Linked DNA regions of Homo sapiens: region 1 is linked to region 2. Evidence: promoter capture Hi-C in human tissues and cell types (Jung and others, 2019). All regions are on one chromosome and are shown on one strand. Each heading gives the region's core, a stretch centred on a gene start or on the middle of the fragment in contact. The rest is flanking DNA. Distances are from core to core; before and after follow the strand shown. Region 1 has its middle 20 kb from the start of MRGPRX3. Region 2 holds the start of SAA2 (serum amyloid A2).

Region 1 (6,049 bases), core at 2,827-5,326, 97 kb after region 2:
AGCATCATATGAAAGAAATTCTGCAGGAAGATGTTTCTCAATATTGTTAAATTTTTTCAGTGCAGAACAGTTGTCAGGCTCACAGCTAAAATTCGATAACAATAATTTTGAATCCAGCCTTTACTGCTCCTTTTAGCATGCACATTAGTTTTCACTGAACCTACACTTTTACTTTCATACTCGTATTTCATTGATTTACATTGTATTTTGATAAATCAGGCACAGCATGCTTCACTTAACAACAGGGATACATTCTGAGAAATGCATCCTTAGGCGATCTCATTGTTGTGTGAACATCATAGAATGTCCTTAGACAAATCTAGATAGTATAGCCTGTTATATGCATAGGCTACATTCTATGGCCTATTGCTTCTAAGTTACAAACCTACACAGCAATAACTGTACTGAATAATGTAGGCAGTTATAGCACAATGTAAGTATTTGTGTTCTAAATACATCTAAACATAGAACAGGTACACTAAAAGTGTGGTACTAAAGATTAAAAAATGATATTCCTGTATAGGGCCCTTACCACGAATGGAGCTTGCAGGACAGTGAGTTACTCTGGGTGAGTCAGTGAGTGGTGGGTGAATGTGAAGGCCTAGGATATTACTGTACACTACTGCAGACTTTATAAACAGTGTACATTTAGGCCACACTAAATTTATTAAAAATTTTTCTTTCCTCAATAATAAATTAAACTTAGTTTACTGTAACTATTTTACTTTATGAACTTTCTAATTTTTAATTTTTTCTCTTATGTAATAACACTTAGCTTAAAACACAAACACATTGTACAATTGTACAAAATTGACTTTTTAAATTTCCTTATTCTATAAACCAATTTCCTAGACTATTTTTATGCAGGCAGAGAGTCTGTCTCCAAGGACATTATTCTCCCTAACACCCGAGAATTCAGTGAGATTGAAAGATAGAGAGCTCACTTATTCAGAATTGAGCTTTCCACCTGCAGCAACGTCCCCAACTCCAATCTCAGAACAGAACATGATTTTCAGGGGAACATAGACTGAGAGATAAATAAGGAATCTTTTTCAATATTATCAGGAAGGAAACAATGATAAAGAAGAGTTGCGTGGTTTTGGACAGAGATTCATTGCATCAGATGAAAATTGCTGCCCCAATCCACTTCCCGACAGCTCCAGCTTTCCCTGAGCAAAGTATCCTTCTCTGTGATCTATCCTAGGCATGTCCTGCAGAGCCCTCTGGAGAACCAGCTTGAGGGTCTGCCTATTTTGACGCTGCCTGAAGGAGCCCAAGAAGAAGTAAATGATGGGGTTGGCACTGCTTTAAGAGAGGACCAGACAACTGAAACTGGAAGAACATGACAAAGGAAGACATGAAAGTTTTTTCAGTCCAGAATAACAGGAATCACTGAATGCCAAGGGGCAGGCTGCATAGGAGAAACACCAGCACTGTGAGCAAGATGGTCATCTACAGCCCGCTCAGTGGCATCTGCTGGGAGCCACAGAGGATCCTGACTAGCAGAACCAGGTTGGACCCACAGAGAACCACAAATTTAAAAATCAGCCACGTGCCTGTGATGAAATCAAATGTCTGAAACCAACTGTAGTCCCCAATCTTAAACAGAAAAGCACAGTAGTAACCTTCCAGGAAGGCAAGCAGCAGGGACGGGGCCCAGAGCAGGGCACACAGGACTGCTGACAGGTGTGTGGGGCGACGGCAGTGGTACCAGATGGGCCACAGGGCAGATATGCAGTGTTTGATGCTGATGGTGCTTAGCATGCTCAGCCCTGCAAGGTAGGAAAGGATCATCACAGCATTGAAGAAGCTAGGAAAGTAGATGGAGATGGAAGAGAAAGTGCTGATGAATTACATCGGGGAATGTATAATGTGGCCGCTGAGGAAGAGGTAGTCCGTCTGGCCAGGTTGAGCATGTAGATAGAGAATGTGTTCTTGGGCACATGGAAGCCCAGGAGCCAGAGCACAACCGCGTTTCCTGCCAGCCCATCCAGGGCAATGATGCACGTCAGTAAGTTTGGGATCAGGGTCTCCAAGTCACAAGTTCAAGAAAGGTTCTTTTCATTTCCATTCATTGATGTGAGTTTTGTCCTCCAAACTGGGATGGTTGGATCCACGCTCCAAAACCCTTCACTGGTGCCTAGGGAAAGGCAAGGAGATTTGAGCTCCAGCTGTGTGATCTCTAATTCTCAAGACCACCCTGCAATGTGTGAATTACTGTTCCCATTTTTCAGAAGAGAAAAATTGGGGCATATGGAGAATAACCAATTAAAATATCAGGAGGCCTTGGATCTGGTTTCAAACCAGTTCTTGCTGACACTAAAGCCTGGGCTCTCTCTATTGCAACAAGGTTCTCTACTCACATGGAAATATTCTTTGATCAAAACCTCTCCATTCAACCAGCTAGGGCTATGGGCCTGAGCATTACTCTGGACTGGGCCAGAAATTTTCTCAGGTGCAGGAATTCAGAAAGACAAAAAGGTGACTCTGACACCTCCATGACTAACAGTGGTGTATCCATGGAGGAAAAAGATCATGATTAAGGGACATGAAAGGAATGTAGCGTTTTGCTGGGACAGATGTAAGGATGGCTGGGCCTGGTAGGCTAGAAAGGGCTCAGCATGTCAGTCACTGAAGACAGTGAGGTAAGAGGTGGGACTTGATTCTGGAGCCAGGGACTTAGACATCAGACCAAATTGAAGACTAGCTAAAACAAGGCCAGGGTGAAAGCAGCTTTCCACAGGACATGGCCACCAGTATGCCACTGAGGTAGGAGGTGTGACTCAACTCTGGAGGTGAGGACTCTGACATTGGACCAGATTGAGGACTAACTAAAACAGGGCTGGGTGGAAGCAGTTTTCCATAAGAATGCCCACCAGTGTGCCATGTCAGTTTACTATGGCCATGGTGACATCTAGAAATTATCACTTTTTTCCATGGCAACTACCTCATGACCTGGAAGTTACCACTCTTATCCTAAAAATTTCTGCATAAACTGCCCCTTAATTTGTGTATCACTAAAAGTGGGCATAAATATGACTGCAGAACTGCCCCTGAGCTGCTACTCTGGACACACTGTTTGTGGGGTAGCCCTGCTTGGCAAGGAGCAGTACCTCTGCTGCTTTAATAAAACTTGCTATCTAACACCACTGGCTTACCCTTGAATTCTTTTCTGTACAAAGCCAAGAACCTGCTTGGGCTAATCCCCAGGAAGGAGCACCACTTTTTATATTCCCAGTGCCTAGCTCCATGTAAGGCACACTATATTCTCCACAAACATTTATTCAGTGAGTGAATGCATGAATGAGGAGCCTAATGGTAGTGGCAGATTTGAGTTAAATAGAAAATAAAAATGAAAGCACAATTAAAGGTATCAGAACACATATATGCATAAGATGAAGAAAATTTCATTCATCAGAATTCTATTTGTGGACAGCTCTGTCTGTGTTAAAAAGAATTACCTATGTGAGCCTAAATATCTGATCACTGATGTGACTTTGAAATGAGGACTCGGTGTTGGCTTTGCTGAGCACCTAGAAGCATTTTGGTATACAGCGTTGAGGTAGGGTGTGGGTCTGAGCTGAATTGCTCAGCAATATACAGGAGGAAAAAGTAAGTGAGCGTGAGGTCTGATTGTCACTGAAGGAGGCAATTGAAATGTGGAAATAGACCTGGAGAACTTCTAAGTGGTGTGCTGGGTGTGCATAACACAAACCTACTTCATTCTCTCTCCCAGATCTTGGGTAGAATTTCTTTTGCTAATGCAAACTTTTGTTTCAGAGGAGTTCCTGAGGGGAACCAGAAAAATTTCAGGGCTTGGAATGTAAAGAGACATGCTCATGCAGATTTTAACTGAAGAAAGAGGACTAGCTTCCATCTGGGTGAATAACAGTAACCAGTTGAGTATTTATTAGGTATTATCCCTCTTAATCTTTTCAAGAGCCTAGGAAGTAAGAAGAATTAGTAATATTCCCATTTTACAGGAGATGACAAAGGAAGACATAAAGGATGTGTAATTATTTCTTAGTCTCACACGATGTGGATTAGAACCCAGCAGGGCTGCCTCAGAGTTTATCTTTTTTGCCAACCCTTTGGATCCAGCACCACTGTGTGTTGCTTACACATCACTGTGTGGGAAAGCAGAGGACATTGTAATTCCCAATATAAATCCAAGATGGTAGTCAAAACTGTGGACTGAAAAAAGTAACGTAAGCAAACTCTGGAGACAATAAGAAACCAACCTAATATCTAACAAATGAGAGTGAAGGGAAACCAATTAGGAGCACAATAAGGAAATCAGAGACCCTTTCCTTCCTCATGAAGTCAAGCTTTCCTCTGGAATCCTGAGGAGCCACAGGCGTAGAAAGCATCCAAGTGGAAACAAAATGCATCCTTCCTCAGGTGTACAGAGAGATATCAAAAGTGAGTGCATCCATCCTGAGCTGTCTTAGAGAAACAAGCTGCCACAGCCTTGGGCCAGAAAGGGAAATGGAAGGAAAACTGTGATCCCCACTCAGGGCACTTAACAGTTTGTGCATCTATATTTAGGGTATATATTTGATATACCGTATTTAACATTTGAAACATTTGTCTTCCTCATTAAACCTGAAGCTCCATAGGGAGTAAGCCATGCCTGTTTTTGTTCACTGTAGTATCACCAACATTTAGCATGTGATATGGTTTGGCTCTGTGTCCCTACCCAATCTCATCTTGAGTTGTAATCCTCATGTGTGGAGGGAGGGAGCTGGTTGGACATGATTGGATCATGGGGCAGGATTTCCCCCTTGCTGTTCCCATGATAGCAAGTGAGTTCTTACGAGTTCTGGTTGTTTCAGTGTCTGGCACTTTCCCATTCTCTCTCTCTCTCTCTTTCTCTCTCCTGCTGCCATGTAAGGCATGACTTGCTTCCCTTTCACCTTCCTTCATGACTGTAATTTTCCTGAGACCTCCCAAATCATGTGGAACTGTGAGTCAATTAAATCTCTCTTCTTTGTAACTTACTCAGTCTCAGGTAGTATATTTATAGCAGTGTGAGAACAGACTAATACAGCATGTGTTCCTTAAAGACTATCTATTGTACTATTCTCATTTGACATAAGAAGGAGTTGAGGCTACAAGAGTCAGACTTGTTTTTCCAATATCACAAAGAGCAGGCCCCATGTCAACATCCCTGTATGAGACTTATGTACTGTTCTCTGCCCCATCATTCATTATTTCTGAGGAGCTCCTGAAAAACCTTGATGTGAGCAAAAAATCTCAGAGATAATCAAGGGTTTCAGAGACTGCCAAGTTGCCCCAATCTCCATTCTCCTCTTCAGTGACATAACAATTCTGAGCATTTAAGAGCAGCACAAGGACACATGTCCCAGTTTTCCTTGATGCTGGATGACATCATAAGACCAGGTTCTTGTCAGTGGAAGGTGAGCAGATGTGATGTAAGGAAGTCCGGGCTCGTGGGATCAATGGAAGAAGTACAGGCTCCCCTTTCCCTCTTTCTTTTTCCATCAGGCTAGAATGCTGATGTGGGTGGGAACCAGTAAGACCACAAAGAATGAGGACTCCACTCTATGGACTGGGAAGCAGCAGTTTTTGGAGTCTTAATGTATGATGCCTTGAAGCCTCCAACTTATATCTAAGATACATTCATTCCTGGGCATTACAGGCAATTCATTCTTGGACCCCTGCATGCACCACAATCTCCAGATGTTCAGTTTCCTTATAGAAAATGGCATAGCATTTATATATAACCTACCCACATTCTCCTATATACTTTAAATGATTTCTACTTTACTAATAATACCTAAGACCATCTAAATGCTGTATAAATAGTTGTTATATTTTTTAGGGAAGAAAGGATAAAAATGTCTGTACCTATTCAGTACAGATGTCACTATCCTTTTTTATTTTCCTTTTCTGACCATTTTTGATTTGCTATTGGGTGAATCCCTGGATGTGGAAACTATGGATATGGAGAATCCACTGTACTTTCTTGTTTAAGATATTTTGATTTAATAAAGATATCTTTATTAGAACAACTAAGCTTATACTC
Region 2 (6,736 bases), core at 3,504-6,003:
CCATGAAGAAATGTGATTGGACAAAAAGCATATGGTATAAACCCAGCAAGGCTTGTCTGTTCAGACTTGGCGTTTCTGTGCAGCATTCCTTCCTCTAGGGTATGAGGCAAGGCCCTTTCTGGAATGAGAGTCTTTTGACCCACAATCAAATTAGAGTCCTGCTTTGGGCAGGTGGAAGAAGGACAGGAGAAGGTCATAGACAGAGATTCTGTTTACTGAGGCCTAAAGTGCCCAACAATATAACAAGGAGTTAGGATCCAGGAGCTGCAGATGAAAAGCAAAATATATGGCTGGGCGCGGTGGCTCACACCTGTAATCCCAGCACTTTGGGAGGCTGAGGCCGGTGGATCACCTGAGGTCAGGAGTTTGAGACCAGCCTGGCCAACATGGTGAAACCCCGTCTCTACTAAAAATGCAAAAATTAGCCGGGCATGGGGGCAGGCACCTGTAATCCCAGCTACTCGGGAGGCTGAGGCACGAGAATCGCTTGAACCTGGGAGGCAGAGGTTGCAGTAAGCAGAGATCGCGCCACTGCATTCCAGCCTGGGCAACAAAAACAGACTCGGTCTCAAAAAAAGGAAAAGATATATATACATATATAAAGATAAATATATATATATGTGTGTGTGTATATATCTAAACACTACAGCTCTTACTTTTTTAATTGACTTAACTTTTCATTGACTTAACTTCTCTTTTTTTTTTTTTGAGATGGAGTTTCGCTCTTGTGGCCCAGGCTGGAGTGCAATGGTGCAATCTTGGCTCACCGCAACCTCCACCGCCCGGGTTCAAGCAATTCTCCTGCCTCAGCCTCCTAAGTATCTGGGATTACAGGCATATGCCACCACACCCAGCTAATTTTGCATTTTTAGTAGAGACGGGTTTTCTCTATGTTGGTCCGGCTGGTCTTGAACTCCCAACCTCAGGTGATCCACCTGCTTCAGCCCGGCAAAGTGCTGGGATTACAGGCGTGAGCCACCGCACCCAGCTGACTTAATTTTCATAGATAACTTATTCATCATAAAGAATTAATTTATTGGCTGGGTGTGGTGGCTCACAACTGTAATTCTAGCACTTTGGGAGGCCAAGGCAGGCGGATTGCTTGAGCCCAGGAGTTCCAGACCAACCTGAGCAAAATATTTATTTTTTGTGTTTATTTACAATAAATACAAAAAGTTATCTAGGCCCAGTGGTGTGCACCTGTAGTCCCAGCTACTCGGGGGGCTGAGGTGGGAGGTTCACCTGATGCCGGAGAGGTTGAGGTTTCAGTGAGCTGAGATTGTATCACTGCACTGCAGCCTGGGTGACAGAGCCAGACTTTGTCTTAAAAAGAAAGAAAGAAAGAAAGAAAGAAAGAGAGAGAGAGAGAGACAGAGAGAGAGAGAGGGGGGGAGAGAGAAAGAGAGAGAGAAAGAAAGAAAGAAAGAAAGAAAGAAAGAAAGAAAGGAAGGAAGGAAGGAAGGAAGGAAGGAAGGAAATAAATAAATAAATAAATAAATAAATAAATAAAGAAAGAAAGAAAGAAAGAAAGAAAGAATTTGTTGCCTTCCTGATAAAAATTCCAGTGGGAAATTTTGATTCACATTGCATTTAATTTATAAATAAATTTGGGAGAATTGGTATCTTTGCTAAGCTAAAATATAATCTCTGTGGACATGACGTACATTGCCACTGTTTATCCTTTAACAGACTAAATTTTCTCTGTAAGAGGTTATTTCCTAGATAGTTAATATTTTTGGTACTACTTTGTGCTGTATTTTATAACTATTAAGGAATGTTGCAGAGAAATGCTATCAATTGTTAAAATTTTGCCATGAATACAGCAGCCTCACTGAATTCTCTTAGTAGTTCTAATAGCTTGCCATTTGATTCTAACAGGTTTTCTATGTAAAAGATGGTGTCATCTTCAAACAATGATAGTTTCATTTCTTCTCTTTCACCTCTTACCTTCCTTGTGTTTCTTTAGCATTGGGCAGGTCCTTCAGGGATATGTGAAACAGTGGCAGTAACAACCAGACATCCTGGCCTCTTTGTTTTTTTTTCCATGATGAAGTCTCACTCCGTTGCCCAGGCTGGAGTGCAGTGGCACGATCTCGGCTCACTGCAGCCTCCACCTCCCGGCTTCAAGTGATTCTCCTGCCTCAACCCCCCAAGTACTTGGGATTACAGGTACCTGCCACTACACCCGACTAATTTTTGTACTTTTAGTAGAGACAGGGTTTCACCATGTTGGCCAGGCTGGTTGAGAATTCCTGACCTCCAGTGATCCACCTGCCTCGTCCTCTCTAAGTTCTTGGATTACAAGTGTGAGCCACCACGCCTGCCATTGTGGCCTCTTTATTGGTCTTCTTGAGAATGCACCTGAAGTGTCTTAATTACACATAATGTTTGCTGTAGAGCAATGATTCTCAAACCTTTTGGTCTCAGGATCCCATTACACTATTAAAAATTATTGAATACCCCAAAGAACTTTTATTTATGGGGACTCTATTCATCAGTATTTACCATAATAGAAAGAAAAAATTTAAACATTTATCAATTCTTCAAAAAATTATCCATCTTCTATATGTTAACATAAATAATATATTTTTATGAAAAATAACCATCTTCCAAAAGAAAAAAAGTAAGAAGAGTACTATGGTTTTACCCTTTTGAAAATTTTTCATGTCTGATTTTTTTTTCATAGCTGGATTTTCCTATCTGATTCATCATCCAACCTGTTTTAATATGTTATTTAGGTTGGAGTATATGAAGAAAATTCAGCCTCACACAGATATATAGTTGAAATGGGGGAGTGTATTTTAATGGTATTTTTAGATAATTGTGGCTATTCTATATTATACCAAACTCAACAAGTGGTAGCTTCTGAAAAGTCAGTTACCATGTGGAAATCCACACTCATATCAACTAACTTGTCATATTGTGTGTACTCATGAGAAAATGAGACTGAAACATGAAAATAGTGTGTTAGCACTATTCTAAAAATAATTTTGAGATCAAAGCCTCCCTAAGGAGGGATTCTTAGGGTTCCCTGGAAAACAGTTTGAGAACTGTTGCTATAACATATTGGTATTTATCCTTTCTCAAGTCAGAAATGGTCTCTTTATTTTGTTATACATTTTCCTTATCATCAGTAGATGTTGACAATTATGAAATTCATTTTCTGCATCTAGTAAAATAAATGTACAATCCTTTTCTTTGATTACTGGTATAGTGAATTACAAAGATAGATTTTTCTGATATGAAACTCTTCTTGACTCCCTGGAATAAGCCCTGGTTAATCACGATGTGCTATTATTTTCACCTGATCTGTGCTGTACCATGTACAGCATGATGTACTATTACTGCTACCCAGTTGGAAACATTCAGCCTCTCTCTGTGAGCTCTTTTTCCCTGGGGATGTCAACTACCCTGCCTAAAATATGTGTGACTGTGTGTGTGGACCCATTCCAGCAGGTACCACTCTCAGTGGTTTTAAGGTGGCAAGATGTAGTGGGGGAGGTGGAGGTGTCAATGCATAGGTCTCAGAACAGAGTCTATAATATCATTGTTCACATTGGAGCCACGCATTTGCTGCTTATGGAGTATTTGGCCATCCTTTACTTCCTGGCCCTACCCATTTCTCAGAGATTAAAAAAAATTTTTTAAGATAATCTTGCTGTGTTGCCCAGGCTGGCCTCAAATTTCTGGGTTCAAGCAGGCCTCCTGCCTTGGCCTCCCAAGTAGCTGGGACTATAGGCACATGCCACCATGCCTGGCCCATTTCTAAATTGCTTGTTTGTTTGTTATTACAAATGCCTAGCCCTCAGGGTATGAACATGGACTGGAGAAGAAGAAACCAGAGTTGCTGCTATGTCCACCAGCCTCTCTGCATGTCCTGGCCTCAGCCCCCCTGGGCTCTGGTACTGACCCATCTCTGGCCACCATGCTCCTCCATAAGCCTCTGCAGAGCTAATCTGACCCTGTTGATGTTCTCATGAGAGAGTGATCTGCATGCCCCCTGCACCCCTCCGTGATAATACAGCAGACCAAGAGCTCTCCCACCCTTCCCTGCCTGGATGCTGGGCACGTCCCCAGCTGGGCTGCCTATTTAACGCACCACACTCTCATTCTCCCAAGGTGGGGCTCCAGGACTAGGCTGGGGCAGCAGAAAGTCCCCCTCTCTACATTGTCCTTGGCTCAGGAGCCAACTTAGAAAAAGCATTTCCAAATTGGCTAAGCCAGCGGAGCAGAGATTTTCTGTGCTGAGAAATATCAGGACATCCAGAGGGGTGGAAGGAGGCTTCCAGGGCACACATGAGATGTGGCAGGGGTAGGCTGTCCGTTTTAAAGCTTAAAGCTTTAGACATGAACTCACAGGGATTTCAGTCAGGGTCATCTGCCATGTGGCCCAGCAGGGCCCATCCTGAGGAAATGACCGGTATAGTCAGGAGCTGGCTGAAGAGCTGCCCTCACTCCACACCTTCCAGCAGCCCAGGTGCCGCCATCACGGGGCTCCCACTGGCATCTCTGCAGCTGCACTTCCCCCAATGCTGAGGAGCAGAGCTGATCTAGCACCCTGTCCATTGCCAAGGCACAGCAAACCTCTCTTGTTCCCATAGGTTACACAACTGGGATAAATGACCCGGGATGAAGAAACCACCGGCATCCAGGAACTTGTCTTAGACCAGTTTGTAGGGGAAATGACCTGCAGGGACTTTCCCCAGGGACCACATCCAGCTTTTCTTCCCTCCCAAGAGACCAGCAAGGCTCACTATAAATAGCAGCCACCTCTCCCTGGCAGACAGGGACCCGCAGCTCAGCTACAGCACAGATCAGGTGAGGAGCACACCAAGGAGTGATTTTTAAAACTTACTCTGTTTTCTCTTTCCCAACAAGATTATCATTTCCTTTAAAAAAAATAGTTATCCTGGGGCATACAGCCATACCATTCTGAAGGTGTCTTATCTCCTCTGATCTAGAGAGGTAAGCAGGGTCGGGCCTGGTAGTACTTGGATGGGAGAACACCTGGGAATACCAGGTGCTAAAGGCTTTAAGAATAAAAAATAATGATCCTGCTTTGTGTTTATCCCATGTTGAGTTCTGTGCGGGGCAGAGGGAACACACGGTAAATGCGTTATGGGGAATTATAGGCTACTTGAGGGAGTGACAGTCTGGTGGTAACTCCTGCCTTCCTCCATCAGTGCCACATTGGCATCCTCTTATGCAGTCAGGCTTCAGGGCTGATGGGTTCAGAACCGAGGGCTTCTGGCTCTGAGTGAGGTCCTGCTGCAAGGTTTCCTAGATGAGCCACTGAGACTCTAATAAGATCCAGTGGAAATAACCAGGCTCTCGTCGGAATATAAGTCCCAAGGGAAGCTGTGCCAGTCTTGTGGGCGACTGCCTGACTTCTCCTTTCATTTCAGCACCATGAAGCTTCTCACGGGCCTGGTTTTCTGCTCCTTGGTCCTGAGTGTCAGCAGCCGAAGCTTCTTTTCGTTCCTTGGCGAGGCTTTTGATGGTAAGGCTTCAGAAGGTTTGCAGGATTTCTGAAGAGAAACATCGCCCTGGACCTGATAAACTGGGGAAAATGATGCTTTCGGAAGGCTGCTTTTGAACCACAGAGTTGCTAGTGTCTGCGTTGCTGAGGCCTGCCAGGAACTAGGGTTTGCTGGGTTGCCTGTCTCGAGTCTTTCAGAGCTGCTGGGAATATCCCCTTTCCCCGTAGTGCAGCTTCTCAGGATGTGTTAAGTGGATGGATCACATTTCAGAAGCCGCTGCAAGGTGTATCAAAAACACATCTCCTGAGCCGTAAGGGACGGGGCATCCAGTAACAACGCACACGGGGTATTTTTGGGCTTCCTTAAGATTTGAGCCGCTGCCTTAGGTTGTGCTGCCCAATGTGCCTGGGGAGCTGCTAAACAGATTAGAGAGTCGAGGATTGTTGTCAGTTACTCAGAGAAAGAACAATCATCCTTTCCAGGAGCACCTGAGCTGTTTGTTTTGAGTAGAAGATGCAAAATAAGGCCTGCAATTGGTATAAAATGTCCCTCAGCATAAATCGCATAGGAGTATGACTAAGGCTGTTGACTCTTCTGTCTTCTTTCTCCTTCCTCCTTCGATTTCCTAGTTGGATAATGTACAGGGCTCTTTAGCCTCGCTCTGTCAGGGGCTCCCTTCCTGGTTTGTTCTGTTTCCATTCTTCCTTCTCCAGCCTTCTTGACAAGAGCTGGGAACTAACGTGCCTCAAGCCCCCACAAGGACCACAGCATTTTCTCATCTAGTTTCAGAATGACTCTGTGAGGCAGGCATCCCTTCTGTGAAGGTGAGAAAGCTGAGACTTAGAGCAGCTGAGGCCAATGCCCAGGGACTTACTGCCAGTCAGCAGGTGGCAGGGCAGAGGTTTGAGCCCGGCTGTGCTTGAGGTCAGGGCTCTTGCCAGGTAGACGCATCACTGACCACCTCCCAGAGGTTGATGGTTATGAATCTCAGACACACCTTGGCATCACCTGAACTACCCATGCCTTCAACTCCCCAGCAGAGTCTGCAGAAACTGGCCTGGGGTGTGGCCTGGGCACTGGGACTTTCAGTTTCTCTCTGGGTGATTAGAAAGTGCAGCCAAGGCTCACGCCTGTAATTCCAGCACTTTGGGAGGCCAAGGTGGATGAATCACTTGAGGTCATGAGTTCCGGAGCAGCCTGGCCAACATGGTGAAACCCTGTGTCTACTAAAAATATGAAAATGTAGCCAGGCGTGG

Evidence for each region. The method cuts DNA at HindIII sites, captures the fragments that hold promoters and counts their contacts. A contact is called where the count stands out against the background at its distance.
Region 1: a fragment that was not itself captured here is called in contact with the fragment with the promoter of SAA2 in region 2 in 3 of the 25 tissues and cell types used here (H1 embryonic stem cells, bladder and liver).

The regions. Positions count from the first base shown.
Region 1 is chr11:18,149,345-18,155,393 of GRCh38, reverse strand. It overlaps the pseudogene MRGPRX12P. Among named protein-coding and RNA genes, the nearest start is that of MRGPRX3, 20 kb to the right of the region's middle. The HindIII fragment of the contact is 6,709 bases long and covers 722-6,049 here.
Region 2 is chr11:18,246,685-18,253,420 of GRCh38, reverse strand. SAA2 (serum amyloid A2) reads left to right here and starts at 4,753. Exons shown (of 4, transcript NM_030754.5): 1 at 4,753-4,818; 2 at 5,406-5,500. The coding sequence starts at 5,410. It overlaps SAA2-SAA4 (SAA2-SAA4 readthrough), which reads left to right and starts at 4,753. Exons shown (of 6, transcript NM_001199744.2): 1 at 4,753-4,818; 2 at 5,406-5,500. The coding sequence starts at 5,410. It also overlaps the pseudogene RNA5SP333. The HindIII fragment of the contact is 6,944 bases long and covers 1-6,368 here.